2 separate regions of the Homo sapiens genome follow, and region 2 is linked to region 1. The links are contacts of gene promoters, found by promoter capture Hi-C in human tissues and cell types (Jung and others, 2019). All regions are on one chromosome and are shown on one strand. Each heading gives the region's core, a stretch centred on a gene start or on the middle of the fragment in contact. The rest is flanking DNA. Distances are from core to core; before and after follow the strand shown. Region 1 overlaps TSEN54 (tRNA splicing endonuclease subunit 54). Region 2 holds the start of ITGB4 (integrin subunit beta 4).

The links. The method cuts DNA at HindIII sites, captures the fragments that hold promoters and counts their contacts. A contact is called where the count stands out against the background at its distance.
Region 2: the fragment with the promoter of ITGB4 here is called in contact with a fragment that was not itself captured in region 1 in 2 of the 25 tissues and cell types used here (bladder and lymphoblastoid cells).

What each region holds. Positions count from the first base shown.
Region 1 is chr17:75,518,014-75,521,819 of GRCh38, forward strand. TSEN54 (tRNA splicing endonuclease subunit 54) reads left to right here. Exons shown (of 11, transcript NM_207346.3): 6 at 982-1,034; 7 at 3,396-3,497; 8 at 3,692-3,806. Among named protein-coding and RNA genes, the nearest start is that of TSEN54, 3.4 kb to the left of the region's middle. The HindIII fragment of the contact is 6,204 bases long and covers 1-3,806 here.
Region 2 is chr17:75,719,331-75,723,136 of GRCh38, forward strand. It overlaps ITGB4 (integrin subunit beta 4), which reads left to right and starts at 2,129. Exons shown (of 40, transcript NM_000213.5): 1 at 2,129-2,282. RefSeq lists silencers at 1,692-1,751, 1,762-2,151 and enhancers at 1,872-2,410, 2,411-2,949. The HindIII fragment of the contact is 11,256 bases long and covers 1-3,806 here.

The DNA.
Region 1 (3,806 bases), core at 115-2,614:
AGGATTAAGGAGAGAGAAGAACCCAGGATTACCGCCCATGATTTGGGCATGCACCAGTGGATGAAGGTGCTGTCATTTTCTGAGTGGGAAGAATGAAGAGGAGCAGATTTGGGAGGACAAGACCAGTCGAAAGAACTGTGTCAGATAAGTTAATTTTGAGGAGCTTCTTGGACATCCAAGTGAGTGTAAAGCAGACAGACAATTGGAATCCAAGTCTGGAGTGTGAGGAGAGGTCAAGGCTAGATGTAAATATGGGTGCCATGAGCACATGGATGGTATTTAAACTACTGGGCTGTATGGGAGTGCCATCAGAGTAGAGGGCTGGGTCTGAGCCCTGGGGCTCTCTGTGTAGGTTAGGGGGCAGATAAGAAGCAGAAACAGACCGAGGAGTGTCTGGTGATGCAGGAGAAAAACCAAAGTCGCATCACAGAAGCCAAAAGAAGGTCTTTCAAGGAGGAAGTGGTTAGCTGTGCTAAAGCCTGCTGAGATCAAGCAGGATGGGGGACATTCTTATCTATGTTCCTCTGATATGAATGCAGGGACACAAGGTTGAATATGTGGCTCCCTACCAGAAACTTCCCACCGGCATCTGTGGAGGTGTGGGGCTGGAGAGATGCCCACCACCTGCCATCATTTTGTTCACATGGTGATCGGCAGCTTCACTCCTATGAGCTTTGTATCAAAATACTCAAGTATTTCAGGGCGTGGTGGTTTTCTGGTTTCATGGCTATCAGTTTTTTTGGATTTGGCTAAATGTCATTTGTGCCGAGTAAGGTAAGTGGGAGGACAGGAATTCAGAGCCTGAGATCTTTAGGGATGGTGTTCGTAATGAAGCATGGTCCAACCTTAATCACAGGGTTTAGAATCTGGGGGTGTACAGGAGGGGCAGAGAGGGCTGTGGGGATGGCCTGTGTCTGGAGAAACCATTTGGTGTTTTCCAGAGTGGCCATCTGAGCTTTCATTTTTTTTTTTTCTTTTGAGGTCTTCAGCCACCTGAAGAGGTTGGGTTATGTGGTTCGACGATTCCAACCAAGGTAAATCCCCTTCCTGTTCCCCTTCCATATATTCTAGTCCTGGGACCTGGCTGACTAGTCTAAGGTAGAAAATGGCCTCTCCTTACCTGGAACCCTTGGCTGGAGTGCAGTTCCTTGGGCACAGACTGGGGGCGCCTGCTGGAAGCGTTCTGAGAGAGGCAGGTTGGGAGGAATCCAGGTCATTTTGTTTTATTCTGGTTTATGAACTCGAGCCGCATCTTCAGATGACCTGCGCCTGCAGCTGAGTGTGTGTGAGCACTGAGAGGCAGGATTGGAACAGTGCCTGGCACTTAGTAGGTGCGCAGGCAGGTATGTAGAGTGTATGCTTAAATGAAGGACTGGGTGAAGAATTTACCATTAGTAGGGTTTCACATTTTTCATGCCAGGTTAAATGTTTTTTCCTTCATCACCTTAGTAATCCAGCATTGGTAAAAGGCAGAGACCTTCAGACTTGGAGTGGAAACGGGTACAGCTTTTGCAGTTACAGTATGTCACAAAAGCTCTAAAGCAGGCACATCTTTTCTTTTCTTTTTGAGACGGAGTCTCACTCTGTCGCCCAGGCTGTAGTGCAGTGGCATGATCTCAGCTTACTGTAGCCTCTGCCTCCTGGGTTCAAGCAGTTCTCCTGCCTCAGCCTCCCAAGTAGCTGGGATTACAGGCGTGTGCCACCATGCCTGGCTAATTTTTTTATTTTATTTTATTTTTAGTACAGATGGGGTTTCACTGTGTTGCCCAGGCTGGTCTCGAACTCCTGACCTCAAATGATCCTCCCGCCTCAGCCTCCCAAAGTGCTGGGATTACAGGCATGAGTCACCACGCCCAGCTCTACATCTTTTCTTTTCTGAAAGTGGAACCTATCCTAAGGAAATAATCGTGGACGTGTACAGTGGTTCACCTGTGAGAATGATCAACGATATTTATTATTTGCTGGGGGTCAGGCCCTGTACACATCGCTGAGAACAGAAGAGCAAAATCACTGCCCTCACAGAGCTTGCATTTAGTGAGGAGTCACACAGAACACACTCACTGTGCAAAATCAGTGTACTTGCAAACAAGAGTTGAACAAGAGGCAGGCTCACACAAATGAGAGGTTATCCCTTAGAGCAGCTCTGTCCAATAGAACTTTCTGTAATGATGAAAATGTTCTGTGTCTGTGATGTCTAATACATGGGGCTAGAGCAACTGTGGGACTGAATGTTTAATTTCATTTAATTTAAATGTATTTAAATCTAACTTAAATAGGCTGGTGTGGTGGCTCACGCCTATAATCCCAGCATTTTGGGAGGCCGACGCGGGCGGATCGCGTGAGCTCAGGAGTACGAGACCAGCCTGGACAGCGTGGTGAAACCCTGTCTCTACTAAAATACCAAAAAAAAAAAAAAAAAAAAATCAGCCAGGTGTGGTGGCAGGCGCCTATAGTCCCAGCTATTCAGGAGGCTGAGGCACGAGAATTGCTTGAACCTGGGCAGCTGAGGTTGCAGTGAGCCGAGATCTTGCCAGTGCACTCCAGCCTGGGCGAAAAAGCGAAACTCTATCTCAAAAAAAAAAGCAAACTTAAATAGCCACCTGTCGCTAGTGGCTCTTTTTTGAACAGCATTGCCTTAAAGCCTTAATTCACAGCCAGGAGGCCAGGCACAGTGGCTCACACCTGTAATCCCAGCACTTTAGGAGGCCGAGGCAGGTGGATCATGAGGTCAGGAGATGGAGACCATCCCGGCCAGCATGGTGAAACCTTGTCTCTACTAAGAATACAAAAATTAGCTGGGCATGGTGGCACGCGCCTGTAGTCCCGGTACTACTCGGGATGCTGAGGCAGGAGAATCGCTTGAACCCAGGAGATGGAGGTTGCAGTGAGCCAAGATTGTGCCACTGCACTCCAGCCCGGTGAGAGAACGAGACTGTGTCTCAAAAAAAAAAAAAAAAGAAAAAGGAAAAAATTCACAGCAGGGAAGAATGCTGCAGTGACGGGGCTGTGTCCACAATATATTATTGAGTGAAAAAAAAGATCACAAAGCAGTATGCTAGTACAATGACATTTTTGTTAGAAAAAAATATATGGAGAGAGATTAGTGTGTACATAAACGAAAGAAAGATGTTAACAATAGTTATCCAAGGTTTTTATTTTTCTATATTTACCAAGTTTGCTAGCTCCTCTGGGCCATTGCCTAGGCAGAGGCACATGGCTGGGCCCCCTGGCTGGGCCTGTACCCCTCATGGGGGTCTGCTTAGGGCCTTAGCACTTGGGTGTGGCTCCGATCCTGGCCCACTGACTGTCCTCTTGGCCCGTTTCCTTACACATCCCACCAGATCCCCAGGCTGAGGAGGTGGGTCAGTGGCCCACCCGCTGTTCTCACCCCACAGCTCTGTCCTGTCCCCGTATGAGAGGCAGCTTAACCTGGATGCCAGCGTGCAGCACTTGGAGGATGGAGATGGCAAGAGAAAGAGGAGCAGCTCCAGCCCTCGGTAACTCCCACATCACGGTGGCCCCCCAGGGAGTGCTGGTGTCTGGGACCTTGGAAAATGCACAGGCTTTCTAAGAACCAGCAGCTCCCATGCAGGCTCAGGGAGACACTAGGGGACCTGCCTTCAGCTCCCATGGGACGTGTGCACCTTAGCAACCAGGGGCAGATGTGCTGCTTTTCCCCCACGTCCCTCAGGTCCATTAATAAGAAGGCCAAGGCCCTGGACAACTCCCTGCAACCCAAGAGTCTGGCAGCCTCCAGCCCACCTCCCTGCAGCCAGCCCAGCCAATGCCCAGAGGAGAAACCCCAG
Region 2 (3,806 bases), core at 879-3,378, 200 kb after region 1:
GAGACCTCCCTGGGTTGACATCTCGCCTCTCAGCTGCTACAGGGCTCCAGGCCCCCTAGTCATTTTCAGAAGGGTTTGCAATGAAGAGAGGAAGGGGCTGCTGAGCCCAGTGGCCTGGGGCATCGCCAGCTCTGGACCTGGGTCTTCTCTAGGAAGAAGCCTCAGCCCCCACCCACAGTGGGGTGTATATGACCCCCTAGTTCTCTAATGGGTGCTGCTGGCAGACCCAGGCCCCTCAGGCAAGCTGTTTTTGGCCGTTCTCTGAGCTCCTGCTCCATGTTTCTGTTTTTTGGGGTGGATAGGTACCTGCTGGAGTGACTCAGGTCCACAGGGCACTTGTGCTGGCCTGACACACACAGATCTGAGTGCTTCAACCAAACTGGGACTCCTTCCACATTGTTCCCAAATCCAGGAGCAAGCCTCTCTGAACACTTTCTCTGTGCAGAACAGCTCTCAGATGACCAGGAAAGGTGGCGACTCACACATTTGCAACCAGCACCCCTGCAATCACTCTGAGAGGTAGCAGTGGAGGAATCTGTTTACAGATGACAGCATGGAGGCTCAGGGAGGCTGTGTGACCATCCCATTCACTCAACCACCCTTTTATTGAGCACCTGCTATGCACCAGGCATGGTGCTAGGTGCTAGAGAGTAGCTGCCCTTGGAGTCACAGTCCAACAGTGTGGCGAGATTCCTAAACATCATTTCAAACCAATGTGGCAAATGCCATGTAAAAGCCATGGCCCAAGGGTTATGGGGACACATAAACCAACTTGGGGTGTGGAGAGGTCAAGGAAGGCTCTCTAGCACGTGGTTGGTGCAACGTCTTCAAGGACAAGAAGGATAAACTGGGCTCAATGTCATGGGAAGGGACCAGCCTGTTGAAAAAGCACGGTGGCTTGAAACCGCATGGTTTGGACAGTGCTGTGCCAGCAGTCTGGTGTTGTTTGGCATTGCTGGCCAGTAAGCCTAGAGAAAAATGGAGCCCTGGCTGGGCATGGTGGTTCACGCCTATAATCCCAGCACTTTGGAAGGCCAAGACGGGTGGATCACCTGAGGTCAGGAGTTCGAGACCAGCCTGGCCAACATGATGTACTAAAAATACAAAAATTAGCCGGGCGTGGTGGCGGGCACCTGTAATCCCAGCTACTCGGGAAACAGGCAGGAGAAGCGCTTGAACCCGGGAGGCAGAGGTTGCAGTGAGCCAAGATTGCACCACTGCACTCCAGCCTCGGCGACAGAGTGAGACTCCATCTAAAAAAAAAAAGAGAGAGAAAACAAAAAGAAAAAGAAAAATGAAGCCCTTCTCTGACCTGAACACCCGTGGTAAGCAGTGGCAATGGAGAGACTGCTCTCAGAGGACTGACGGGAGGGAGGGGCCAGCTCTGTAACCAGCTTGTTAAGAACAACTGTAACAAGGCATCGAGTGCCAATCCATGCCAGGTCGGCACTGACCTCTCCAGGGTATCACTGTTCACACTGTAAGGAGATTTAAGTAGCTTGTTGAAGGGTGCACCGAGGACCCGACCCTTCCTCGGCTCTCCCTCTGGATACAACGTGAGGTTAGGGGTTGGAGGCTGAGAGGACCCCGTGAACTGCAGAGCAGAGCTGGGACGGGGAGTCAGGCCTCCCGACCGGGCCGGGGGCACTCCCTGGGCCCATGCCTCGCGCTGGCACGGAGAGCGGGGAGGGGGGTACGCGGCTGACGACCGTCGGGGCAGCAGCAGCAGCACAGCCCGGCGTTGGCTAGCGGCCCAGAGTCGGGGCAGGGAGGGTTCCCGTGCGGACGGGGGCTAAGAGGCCGCCTCCAGCCCGGGGCAGTCCGCGCACCCGAGCCTGGAGCCCGGAGCCTGGAGGGGTGGGGAGGCCCCGCGCCCAGGGCCGGACCGGAGGGAGAGGGAGAGCGGTGGCTCCTCCCCCGGCCCCCGCCGCTAGCCGATCGGGGCGCTGGGCGGGCGCCGCGGGAGCCGCAGCCCTTTCCGGGGGGCGGACCCGGCTCCGGCGGCGGCACCCAGCTCCTGCCCCGACAGGTGCGCGCCGCGCGAAGGAATGCAGCCGGTCTGACTCACCAGCGCCTCCTTCCTACCTGCGCGCCCGCCCCATAAAGCGCTGCCCGCCTCGTCCCCACCCCCCCAACCCCCGCGCCCGCCCTCGGACAGTCCCTGCTCGCCCGCGCGCTGCAGCCCCATCTCCTAGCGGCAGCCCAGGCGCGGAGGGAGCGAGTCCGCCCCGAGGTAGGTCCAGGACGGGCGCACAGCAGCAGCCGAGGCTGGCCGGGAGAGGGTGAGTGCCCGCCCCAGCTGGGCAGCCGCGCAGGGGAGCTGGTCGGGCAGGGCCGGTGGCTTTTGTCTCCCCTTCCCCTCCCTGAAGGCTGACAGGCCCCGGTCCCTCTGTCCACGCTGCGCAGGACAGGTGCCCAGCCTCCCCGGGGTGCGCCGGGGGCAGCTGGCAGCCAAGGGGCAGGGCAGCTAGAGAAGGGTGGTGCCCATCAGACCTCCAGGCCAGAGGAGCGCCTTGGGTGCGCCTGCGGGAGAAGTGGGCAGAGGCCAGTGGCTGGTAGCCCTCTGGGGCTGGGCCCCTCCAGGGTTTGCAAAGAAGGTGGAGTAGACACCAGCCTGAGTGCTGGGCCCAGCCCATCATGGCGCATCTAATGATAAACCAACATTCCTGACTTTTATGTGAAATTTCGTTCTTTCTAACATTGGCTCCTACTTTTAAAAGCCACCCTGAGAGGCAGACGCCATCCCGGCTCCAGGCAGGGCTTGCTCTATGCGGTGCCACAGTCCATCTGGGGCTGGGGAGTCCCTGATTTTCCTTTTCTCTTGGCCAAGCACAGGCCTGCCTTCCTCCCAAAGTCAGCCCCAGGCGCCTTCCTTCAGGAAGCTCTACAGGCCTCACCCACCAGCCCCAGGGCTGTGCCCAACACTGCCACCTCCTGCAGCATCCGCCCTCTTTCCCATGGCTCAGCCTCTGGGGTGGCCCTCTGGCTGGGACTGGGGCTCTGGGGCTCCTGGTGACTCCCAGGAGCAGGGACAGGGCTTCTCCTCTGCCCCCATGGCCTTGCCACACCCTGAGGACAAGGACCAGGCACAGGTGGCATGGTTGTTGCTGTCCGAAACAGAGCTGGCAGTGAAGGCTTGGAGTCTCCATCCTGGGGGCTGAGGGAAGGACAGCAGGAGGGACAGGAGGGGAGGTATGTCTGTCTACTCGACCCTGATTTCTCAGGGAGACAGAACAGCCAAGGGCCTGGGGTCCCCAGACTTCTGGCCAGCTGCCTCTCTGGGGCGAGGAAGGGCCTGGGTCCCTGAGGGGAGGAGATGTGACAGCGGGAGAGGATAGTGGACAGGAGCAGGTGTGCCCAGAGGGGTCCCCAGGGGTTGGGATGGGGGCCAGGGGAGCTCTGAGCCTGTGGGTGGGTGGGCATGGCCTGTGTGTGTGTGTGTGTGTGTGTGTGTGTGTGTGTCCCTGTGGGGGGGAAACTGCCTGTGCTGCAGTGTGATGGCATTCAGGGTGGCAGTCACACACTCCAGGGACCTGCTGGTACATAAAGTCGGGGCAGCCTGGTGGGGTCCGGGCCGCCTGGAGAGTAGGTGTCCTGAGCGCTGGGCCCAGCCCATCGTGATACATCTAATGATAAACACAAATTCCTAACTTTTATGGGAAATCTCGTTGTTTCTAACATTGGCTCCTACTTTTAAAACTTTCTAAACAAATGAAGCCAAACACTCTTGGGTGCCTCGCCAACCCTCTAACTGCCATTTTGTAGCTTCTGCGTGGAGGCTGCCATGGAGGTTAAAGGCAGGGCCT